Linked DNA regions of Homo sapiens: all the other regions are linked to region 2. Evidence: promoter capture Hi-C in 16 types of primary human blood cells and fetal thymus (Javierre and others, 2016). All regions are on one chromosome and are shown on one strand. Each heading gives the region's core, a stretch centred on a gene start or on the middle of the fragment in contact. The rest is flanking DNA. Distances are from core to core; before and after follow the strand shown.

Region 1 (3,250 bases), core at 1-2,500, 1.6 Mb after region 2:
TAGGTGAGAGGATGGAAAATTACAAACTGCGGAAAAAGCAAGAACTCAGCAACCCTTCGTCGGGCAGCAGGACGGCAGGTGGCGCTCATGAGACCTCCCAGGCGGTCCACCAGAGGTGAGGTCCCAACTGAGGTCCCACGTAGGGCTGTTCTCTACCCCATTCACATGGCATATCTCTCTGTGGTGCCGTCAGCAGGTGCCGTCGCGTGCATTGCCCGTGGACTTGGGGGCCATCGGCCTTCCTCACCCGCTGCCTCTGTCCTGGTCTCTGCCCTCCATGCAGCACCTGGAGTGGCACCTGGCACAAATGAGTGAGCAGGTCATGGTGTGGTGGCAGCTTCATTCCCAGGTTTAAGTGGCATTCACAGCCCGGACACAGGTCTAAGCCATGTTTAGACACGCGCCTACCCTCTCATACTTTGGGCATTCTCAGAAGCAGACCTTGACGAGGATTTGGGGGCAGGTTGTTTACCTGGGAGGTGACCCGCAGAGGCACAGTGAGAGGGCAGGGAAGTGAGGAAGAGGTGGCTGCTTCCTGTAACTGTGACCATCACAATGAGTGCAAATGTAACAGCCCAAGCCATGTAGACTGCCTGTCCCACAGTGCTGGAGGTCAGAAGGCAGGCTTGGCTCTCCTGGCTTCTCTGTGCCTCACAAGGCCTGAGCGAAGGGGCCCGCCGACCGGGCTGTTCTTAGGAAGCTGCTCAGTAACAGGTGTCAGGAAACGCCCTGCTGCAGGGTTTGCACAGACCGAACTTGCCCTAACTTTCCAGGCTCCCAGCAAACTACAGTCTGGCAAGTCCTCAGATGTGGGGCGCAGAAGCATCACTCGGCTTTCCTGCGAAACTTGCAGGTTCTGGGCCCACACCTGGAGACTCAGGCTCAGAAAGTGTGAGGAGAGCCCAAGAATCTGAATTTTAGCCGCACCTCTCCGCACCAAGGGATACTGATAGATGTGGTCCAAGGGCTTCACTTTGACCCAGGTGATCCAAGAGAAGGAGCCTCAGCAGCCAGCTGGGCCAACCTGCTTTATGGAAGAGGAAAAGGAAGCCCAGTGTTGGGAAAGGGGGTGCATGAGCCCATCTGTGACTCACAGCTTATATGTGGCTGTTGATGCCCTTCCCTCCCTGTCACACCTCCTTGAATTCAGAGGCAGTTTCTTTTCTTTTTTTTTTTTTTTTTTGAAGGAGTGACAGTACAATTTTGTGACATAGCTATATTGAATAGTGGTGAAGTCTGAGCCTTTATTGTAACCATCACCCAAATAGTGTACGTTTTACCCATTAATTTCTCATCATCCACTCCCCTCCCATCGTCCCGCCGCCCTTCTGTGTCTCTGTTGTCCATCCTTCCACTCTCTTTTTTTTTTTTGAGACAGAGTCTTGCTCTGTTGCCCAGGCTGGAATGCAGTGGTGCAATCTCAGCTCACTGCAACCTCCGCCTCCCGGGTTCAAGCGATTCTCTTGCCTCAGTCTCCCGAGTAGCTGGGATTACAGGCGCGCACCACCATGCCCAGCTAATTTTTTTGTATTTTTAGTAGAGATGGGGTTTTACCATGTTGGCCAGGCCGGTCTCAAACTCCTGACCTCAGGTGATTCACCCGCCTTGGCCTCTCGGTGCTGGGATTACAGGTGTGAGCCACTGCGCCCAGCCTGTCATTCTACTCGCTGTGTCCATGTGCACACATTATTGAGCTCCCACTCATAACTGAAAATATGAGATATTTCTGTTTCTGAGTTGTTTCACTTAAGAAAATGGCCTCCAGTTCCATCCACGTTGCTGTAAAAGACATGATTTCATTCTTTTTTATGGCTGAGTAGTATTCCATTGTGTATATGGACCACATTTTCCTTATCCAGTCCTCCATTGATGGACACTTAGGTTGATTCCATATCTTTGCTATTGTGAATAATGCAATGAACACACGAGAGCAGGTATCTTTCTGATATACTGATTTATTTTCCTTTGGGTAGATACCCAGTAGTGGGATTGCTGGATCAAATGGTCATTCTATTTTTAGTTCTTTGAGAAATCATGCTGTTTTCCATACAGGCTGCACTAATATACATTCCCACCAATGGTGCATAAGTGTTCCCTTTTCTCCACATCCTCACCAAGTGTTATAGTTTGTCTTTTTAGTGATAGCCATTCTAACTGGGGTAAGATGATATCTCCTTGTGGCTTTAACTTGCATTCCTCTGATGATGGGTGATGCTCAGAGTTTTTTCACATGCTTCTTGGCCATTTGTGTGTCTTTTTTTTAAGAACGTCTATTCATGTCCATAGGCACGGTTTCTAGTGGAACTCGGCCTCCTTTAAGGTGTGAGAGAGGCTGGAGTCTGGAGTGCTGGCCTCAGCTGTGCCAAATGAGTGATTTGTTTACTGTCCACCCTCCTTCCTGCCACTCAAACTAGAGCTCCTTGAGGACGGGGACTGTGGGTCTCTGTTCACACCTTTGTCTCAGAACCCAGCACAGCACCTGGCAGGCCAGAGATACTTTAATGAAGGAATGAGTGGATGGATGGAGGGAGGGAGGAATGGAGTGAGAGGTGGAGGGATGGATGACAGCGTCTTGTAGGGTGCACAGGAATTTGCTGGGCAAAAACAGAGAGGAAAGGTGTTACTGGCGGACAGAAGAGTGTGAGGTAGGAGCAGGGTGGCATTTTCACACCTCGGAGCACTCCACACGCACAGCTGCCTATCCATGCTAAAGGTGGCCCTGACTTCAGGTCTAGAAATTCGACCCCTTTCAGAAAATCTGCCCTAAAAGATGGGAAGGAGGCAGGCAGGGAGCAATAATGGAAACAGGGTGGCTGGATTTGGATGTTCCTGACTGCTTAGGAACGGAGGGCATCCAGAGAGGGAGGTGGGCCCTGGGGCTCAGGTACCCGGCCTCTGCTCCAGCTCTGTCCCCCTCTCTGAGAGTAACAGGCTGCCTGCCGTATTCGGGATTTCCCAGAGGCTGCATCCCAAGAAGCTTCTCATTTTACGAGGGAGGGGCCGGGGCAGTTCTGAGATTTAAACTCAGGGATGGGTAGCCGGTAGGCCTCTGGTCCTTTCAGGAGAATGCTCCTCCCTGGGGAAAAGATTGTTTTCTCATGAGAAGATGCCACCTTCTGCTCCGCCACTTCACAGACGTGTGTCCTGAGGGAGGCCCCCACCTCTCTGGGTTTCTTCCCCCCAGCTTTTCTACTCTGTCCTGCTGGTGTCATGAAGCTCCTCCGAAGATCACATGCAAAGTGTGTGGGCA
Region 2 (3,419 bases), core at 848-3,347:
GAAGAATTCAACTAACAAAATATAACACGAAAAATCAGACTTGGGTTTAATTTACAAAGCAATAAAATTTTCTTACCTGCTAGTGTGGAAGTTTTCTTTAAGGGTTTTAAAGAAGTCAACATAATAGGTCACAACAATGGATGCCAAAATCCAGAATCCAGAATGGATATTAAGTCTTGGAAGAGGTTTCTCCTTTTTCTCAACAGCTGTGGAGGTTTCTGCAAATAAGGGAGATTTCAACTTATTAAGTTACCACAATTTTGCGAGGAAAAATTACACTTAAGCCAAATAAAATCATTTCCTAGAGCTAAGAAACAGTCTCTCCCATGATAACAAATCCTTCTGTAAAACCCTTGAGATAGGTTTATATTTACAAAAAATAAGAGCCCACTATAAAATATGGTCAATACAGTCAATTTATTTCCTCTAAATACATTGTGAAATCAAATTTACACTTTCATCGTCTTTCGGAAATAACAATGTCACCTGGAAATGTAAGAATTTTAATATTATGTTTCACATTTCTTCTAGGAAAGTAATTAGTCTTGTTAATTAGGAAAAATGCCAAAGGCAAACATTAGCGCATGAACTGGACTTGTGGTCTTCCAAGAACACTTTTATAACTAAATTTTTTTTTTTTGAGTCGGAGTCTTCCTCTGTCGCCCGGGTTGGAGTGGAATGGTTTGATCTCGGCTCACTGCAACCACCGCCTCCCGGGTTCAAGCAATTCTCCTGCCTCAGCCTCCCGAGTACCTGGGATTACAGGCGCCTGCCACCACGCCGGGCTAATTTTTGTATTTTTAGTAGAGACGGGGTTTCACCATCTTGGCCAGGCTGCTCTATTTGGCCAGGTTGGTCTCGAACTCCTGACCTCGTGATCAGCCCGCCTCAGCCTCTCAAAGTGCTGGGATTACAGGCGTGAGCTACCCTGCCCAGCCTATAACTAAATATTTTAGTTACTTTAAACACAGCTCAAAAGTGGAAACGGCACACCAGAGCTCTAGTTCCAGCACAGCACTGTCTAGACAGGTGATGGACAAGACATTTTTCCTGTCTGGAACGCAATCTGAAAGAATGGGTGGATGGGGGTTGGGTCAGATGGATGATTTCTATTAAGTTTTCCGGGGATTCTGACATGCCCTCTAGGTTCACGTGAGAATCAATGGTCCACATCTGAGGTTTTGGGCCTTTAGATGACCATCGGAAACCCTGGGAAGCATGTTCGTAATATTCTGGGATATCCTCAAAATGTATACATCATCATGCCTGGGCATGAGGTTATTCGTGTTTTTAATTTTAAAAGGTAATAAATGGACGTGGTTTTAAAACATATGAGATAAAAAATATCCAAAATGAAGTATCTGTCTCCCATCCTTAACCTCAGATCTAATCCCCAGAAGCAACCACCACTTACAATTTCTACTGAATTCTTCCATATTCTATGCATTCACAGGTGAACATACATCACAAGTTACCTGTTTTGTACCCAAATGGCGGCATACCATAGTGTTCCACACTTCCCTTTGAAAATCATCCCCATTGGTACATACGAGTCGACCTGATGTGTCAGGTATACATATACCCAAATTTACTTAAACAGCTTTCTGCTGACGGGCAAGGCAGATATTTCCAGTAATTCGCTATTACAAGCAATCCTGAAGTGAAACACTGCGCACATCATTGTACACTGCGGTACACGCATGTTTCTGGTAAATCCTTAAGACTTAAAACTGGTGGGTATTTTTAATTTTAATCGCTATTTCCAAATAGGTGTCAAATCAGCTCTCCAGAGAATTCTGAAGCGCAGCTGAAATGACGATGCACAGCACTCCGCGATTCTAAGGATCTTCCCTGACATTAAATATTCGACTTGCAAAGCCGAAACTCAGTCCTTCCAGACTGGGCCAGGGCTGCCGGAGGCCGGCCGTTTTCCGACGCCTCGCCTCTGAGAACCTCGGGGCGGCTTGGTGCGCGCCTCACCCGGCCCGGCGTCACCCTCGCGGTCCAGCTGGGCCTCGGCGTCCGGCAGGAGGAGGAATCGCCGCCGGAGCTGCTGCCGGGCCCGCGAGGAGTCCATCTTGGTACCGCCCCGAAATGCGACGGAAGTGACGTCAGACACAGCGCTTCCGGCGTCCGCTCCGGGTCTGGACCTCCTGGCGTTTGGATTGGAGACTGTGTTCTCTTCGCTGTTTAGTTAGCGAGCAGCTAGGGTGGAGTCGGCCTCAAAGGTTCCGCTCTCATGTCGGCAAGTGTGATTTGAATTTTAAAACACTGAGCTTTGCCGGTGGAAGAGTTCCCAAGTTTATTCCGACCTACGGAAGCCCAGGAGGACCAGGATTACCGCTGCCGCTGGATGCGTCCAGGGCCGGGATGCGCGACCGTGAGACGCTGCGCTTCCGAAGCCCTCGCAGGCTTCCGGGTGCCAGAGCAGGAGACATACCCTCTGTCCAGCCTTCCACTCTCAGCCCCCAGTTTTTTTCCTACTTTTGCTTTTCAGGAGTCGTCCAGCAAGACTTGAAAGGAGGAGAAAGGCCTGCTGGACAGGATGCTAGAGCCTGGCAGTGACCACTTGGGGGCCCTGGGCATTAAATAAACTTCTTGGGGCCCGTTTCGTTATTACACTTGGCTCTAGATTTGTTGTGCGTTTCAGTGAGAAGTACCTGTATGTGGTTCATGTGAGCCTCCTCCTCGCCACTTGTGAAAAATCCTCCCAGCCTGAACCGAGGGAACTAAATTGCTTTCCCAGCAAACTGCGGTTTTCCACACTGCTCACGCCCACAAACTGTGTGTTACGAGTTCACAACTTTTTCTTCGTCAATAATCCCGCGTATTACTCTCCCAGCCGTTTCCCAGCGTGTCATGTGCTGAGAAATGGTGGGCTTAGCCACGCAAACGTTTACTGAGCATCTACTATTTGGTAGGAGCTGTTAGGCACCATGCTAGCAGTGGAGATAAAGATGAGTAAGACATGGCCTTGCACGTGAGGAGCTCCTTGTCCAAAGAAAACCACAGAGGTATATTACAAGAAAACTCTATTTGTAAATGTATGAAAGCATTTCATCAATGCAGCCAACATTTTCTGAGCAGCTGCATGTGATAAAATGGTGAGGACAGAAGAATCTAGTAGAGGAAGCAGCTTCAATACAGTGCCATAATAAAAACACTGTACATGGGGCATAATAGAAACACTGTACATATAAAGGGCAGTTTATTCTGCTGCAGTGTGGGAGAGCAGGGAGAGTGGTTTCAGGTGAGTTGAATACAGGGGTGGAGAGCCAGCTACATAGGAAGTAAAATTTGAATTAGTAGGCACTGTTTAATATCTTCGATGTGTTGGGGTGTTTGTAAAAGGAATGTAATAAGAAATACTCAAGAAAAGAGTGCCAGCCGCGCGCGGTGGCTCACGCCTGTAATCCCAA
Region 3 (3,582 bases), core at 1,012-3,511, 1.6 Mb after region 2:
TCTTTCTAGTGTGGACCAGAGGTGGGGGCAATGAGTAAACATCTTCACTGTAAGGGTTTTGGGACTGCCCCTCAGGGCTTGAGGTCTCGGCATCGTGTCTCAGTCAGTCCTTGGCGATGTCCCCTCAGACGCACTCACAGACTTGCATACGTAATTTAGTAACATGCATCAACTATCCTAGAACATCTACAGGGTGCAAAGGAACCACCACTCAGAGAATCATGGAGCCAGTGGAGTTAGAAGTGGAAGGGACAGAACAAGACAATGCTAAAACCTGTGGTTCACTAGGAAGGGGGAATGAAAACACCATGCTCCGAGGTGGATTCAGCATGAACACAACTGTGGGGCAAGGAATTTCCAAGCAAACACACCACACTAGTACCACTTCTTCCTAAACAGAAAAGGGAAAGAGCATCCTTCGACTTCCCCCTCCCTCCATCAGCACCAACTAAAACTGTGGGTTTCAAAAACACTGACAGGAAAAGGGATGGACATGATTCCCAGAATCCTTCAGGCTAGCTCCTCCGCGCATCCACGTTCAACCGAGGCTGGTGATGTTGGAGCGGCCACCAGGGGGCGCCACGATGCGGTGGCCGGTGCGCCTGGGATTGTTGTCATCTATCTGGGCACCTGAAAGAGAGCGCCAATCGCTGCTGGATGGGATCTGTTAGCATCAGTTCCACGCTGCTCCTGGAGGCCATGTACTCTGCCATGCACTCCACTGGACCCACCTTCATTCAGGGCTCAGTCCAGGACCAGCCATGGGAAGCCTCCCTGGCCTCCACAGAGTCCACTGCTCCCTCTTCTGTGCCCCTCAGTCCCTGGGCTCCCCCCACCTTCAGCCCTGACCACCTTGTGGTGTTCTTGTCAAAATCCCCAGTAAAATCCGACATTCCTGAGACAGGTGATCAAACACTTACTGAGTGCCTACTGTGTGCAGGCGCACATTTGGTGCTTTAACATGTTACTGCATTTAGGGCACACAATCATACTATGAAGGGGGTGTTTGTACTCCCAACTTACGGGTGAGCAATTTGAGGTTCAGGCCACGTGTCTTGCGGGACACAGGTGTTGGGTGGGGAAGCCAGGATTGAAGCCCAAACTGGTTGGTTTTCAAAGCCCATGATCTTAGGCACACTGTCCCACACTCCAAAGGTATTTTACATATTGTGTGTGTACACATTTGTATATGCATGTGCATATGTGTGTGCATGTGCATGTGAACTCCGCAAGCTGGATTTACTTCCCTCATTGGCGATAGGTGGATCTGAAGGGGGGGGGGGTGGTGTGCAGAGGTTCTTAATTTTAATCTTTCAAAACCAACCATCCATTCTACTTTTACCTATTCTCTTGCATAAAGATGTAAAATTCTAGCAGCAAACCCAGTGCCTGGAGCTCAACAAATATTTATTAAATGAGTAAATCATGAAGGGTGGATAATGCTGAAAGGTGGGAAGGATAGAGTCCTTATCAGGGAGGGGAAGTTGAGCCGGCGGAACTGAGGAAAATCAAAAAGAGAAAGCAAATAAGCTGTAAGTCTGCCTTTCTTCATGGTCTACAACACAGCCTTCCTGTACTCAACTTATCACCAGATCCTCAGCTAACAGAAAAACGTAAGTAAGTTAGCTCACTGCAACCACAGCATTATCAGTACTGCACAAAGCCCTCTTCGGCACACAGCACAAGCACCATCCTATAAAATCTCCAGCAAGCCTTTGTTTCCTTGCAGTCGGCTCCTTTCTTGCTGACCTACCCACTGTACCCTTTCATACTTTTTCTAATACATCTGACTTTCTTTACCGACAACTGTCTTGGTGAATTTTTTTTACTAGCTGCAGAACACTGGCCCCAGGTAGTTGTCACCTGCAACAGGAAGGAGACTCAAGTTTCAGTGCTAATCATGCCTTGAATTTGGGCAATTTGGAGTAAGACACCACCCCACTCCCTTGGCCTCATTTCCTTTTCTGCACAATAAGAACAGTAGACTAGATGAGCCCCTTCCAACTCCAACATTACATGATTTGTCTATGTAAGCCACTAAGAATTTGGTTCACAGTAGTGACTTTTCTTTTCTCCCATTGTTTCACTGGTAGACAATATGTCTTCTTGCAATACAAGTCTCCCCTAAAGGCCTGGAATCAGGCCTAGCACTTAGTAACTTTTTCCTTACAACCATCTGTACCTTGCTGGTTGCATGTCTGTACTTTGAAAATACCTGCTGGAAAAAAGGACACTAATATGGTTTGGACTTTTGTCCCCCAAAACTTCGTGTTGAAATTTGATCCCAAAGTTGGAGGTGGGGCCTAATGGGAGGGGTTTGGGTCATGAAGGACAGACCACTCATGAATGGCTTGGTGTCAGCCTTACAGTAATGAGTAAATTCTTGCTCTATTAGCTCTCGGAAGAACTGGTTGTTAAAGAGCACCTCTGCCTTCTTCCTCTGTTGCCATGTGATCTCTGCACACGCTAGCTCTCCTTCGCCTTCTGCCATGCTGGAAGTAGCCTGAGGCCCTCACCAGAAGCAGACGCTGGCACCGTGCTGCTTGTACAGCCTGCAGAGCCGTGAGCCAAGTAAACCTCTTTAATTACCCAGCCTCAGGTAATCCTTTATAGCAATGTAAATGGACGAAAACAGACACTAACTCATGGTACAGCTCTATAACGTAACATACGCAGATATTAAAAAGGGCATCTGTGAGGTTGTTATGATGTTGGAAAGCATCTGTGTTGTTGGTACCAAATGAAGTCACCTATCAACCTGCCAAGAGGCTGGCTGACAGCAGTGGTGCTGTGGGCCTCAGGAGGACTAAGAGTGAAACTGAGAGAACAAGGGTGAGGAGGGGCCCTTCCAGGTGGCTTTTAACTTCATTGTTATTCTTGTTCTAAGAACAACGGGGAGGAGGATTTTCTGTCCATGTTTAATTGCAATTGTGCAGTGTTTAATTGCATAACTCCAGAACAGTGGTCCAGTTTGCAAACTCCTTGAGAGCTTGTGTCTTGTTGCACCCAGATAGCTTTTTCCCAGGATGAAGCCAATCCCTGGTTTGCTGATTGAGCATCACATGACTTTTAGCATTCTATTTAGGGTCCATTTTGTGCAAAAATATGAAACACTGGAAGCTCTTCCATCAAAGTCTTATGGAGAGTGAGATGAATGGGGAGGCCTCCTTGATTCATGCCTCCTCGGCATAATCACTGAATCAGACACTTCCTGAATGGATAAGAGGTTCTGCCACCACACAATCTGAATTCACACGTCATCCTCTCTCTCTCTCTCTCTTTGCCCCTTCCACTCTCTCTTTTGCTAAGCATATCGCCTTTCCTGACCAGGAATTAGCAAACGGGTCCATTGACCAAATCCGGCCCACCGCCTGTTTCTGTACGATCCATGACCTGAGAATAGTTTGTACATTTTCAAATGGCTATTGAATATAACATCCTAGATGTTGACATCCTAGATGTTGCCTCTTAGCTTACAAAGCCTAAAGTATTTACTATCCGGCCTTCTAAGAAAAAAAATCACCATACTCTTAGTACCCAGCACGGTGTGCAACCCATGCAACGCCTCAAAGAGTTTGCAGG

What was found. Contacts are between HindIII fragments. The CHiCAGO score rates a contact against its expected background, and 5 or more counts as called.
Region 1: a fragment that was not itself captured here is called in contact with the fragment with the promoter of TMEM128 in region 2 in 1 of 17 cell types (naive B cells); the score reaches 12.3 in naive B cells.
Region 3: a contact is called between a fragment that was not itself captured here and the fragment with the promoter of TMEM128 in region 2, in 2 of 17 cell types (naive B cells and total B cells). The highest score is 7.3, in naive B cells.

Annotation. Positions count from the first base shown.
Region 1 is chr4:5,804,727-5,807,976 of GRCh38, forward strand. EVC (EvC ciliary complex subunit 1) reads left to right here. Exons shown (of 21, transcript NM_153717.3): 17 at 4-115. Among named protein-coding and RNA genes, the nearest start is that of CRMP1, 87 kb to the right of the region's middle. The HindIII fragment of the contact is 3,449 bases long and covers 1-2,975 here.
Region 2 is chr4:4,246,126-4,249,544 of GRCh38, forward strand. TMEM128 (transmembrane protein 128) reads right to left here and starts at 2,098. Exons shown (of 5, transcript NM_001297551.2): 1 at 1,981-2,098; 2 at 77-218. The coding sequence starts at 2,077. RefSeq lists enhancers at 1,440-2,066, 2,369-2,478. The HindIII fragment of the contact is 7,732 bases long and covers 1-3,419 here.
Region 3 is chr4:5,821,222-5,824,803 of GRCh38, forward strand. It overlaps CRMP1 (collapsin response mediator protein 1), which reads right to left. Exons shown (of 14, transcript NM_001014809.3): 14 at 1-630. The coding sequence ends at 539. It also overlaps a transcript of EVC not described here. Among named protein-coding and RNA genes, the nearest start is that of CRMP1, 70 kb to the right of the region's middle. The HindIII fragment of the contact is 5,333 bases long and covers 1-3,582 here.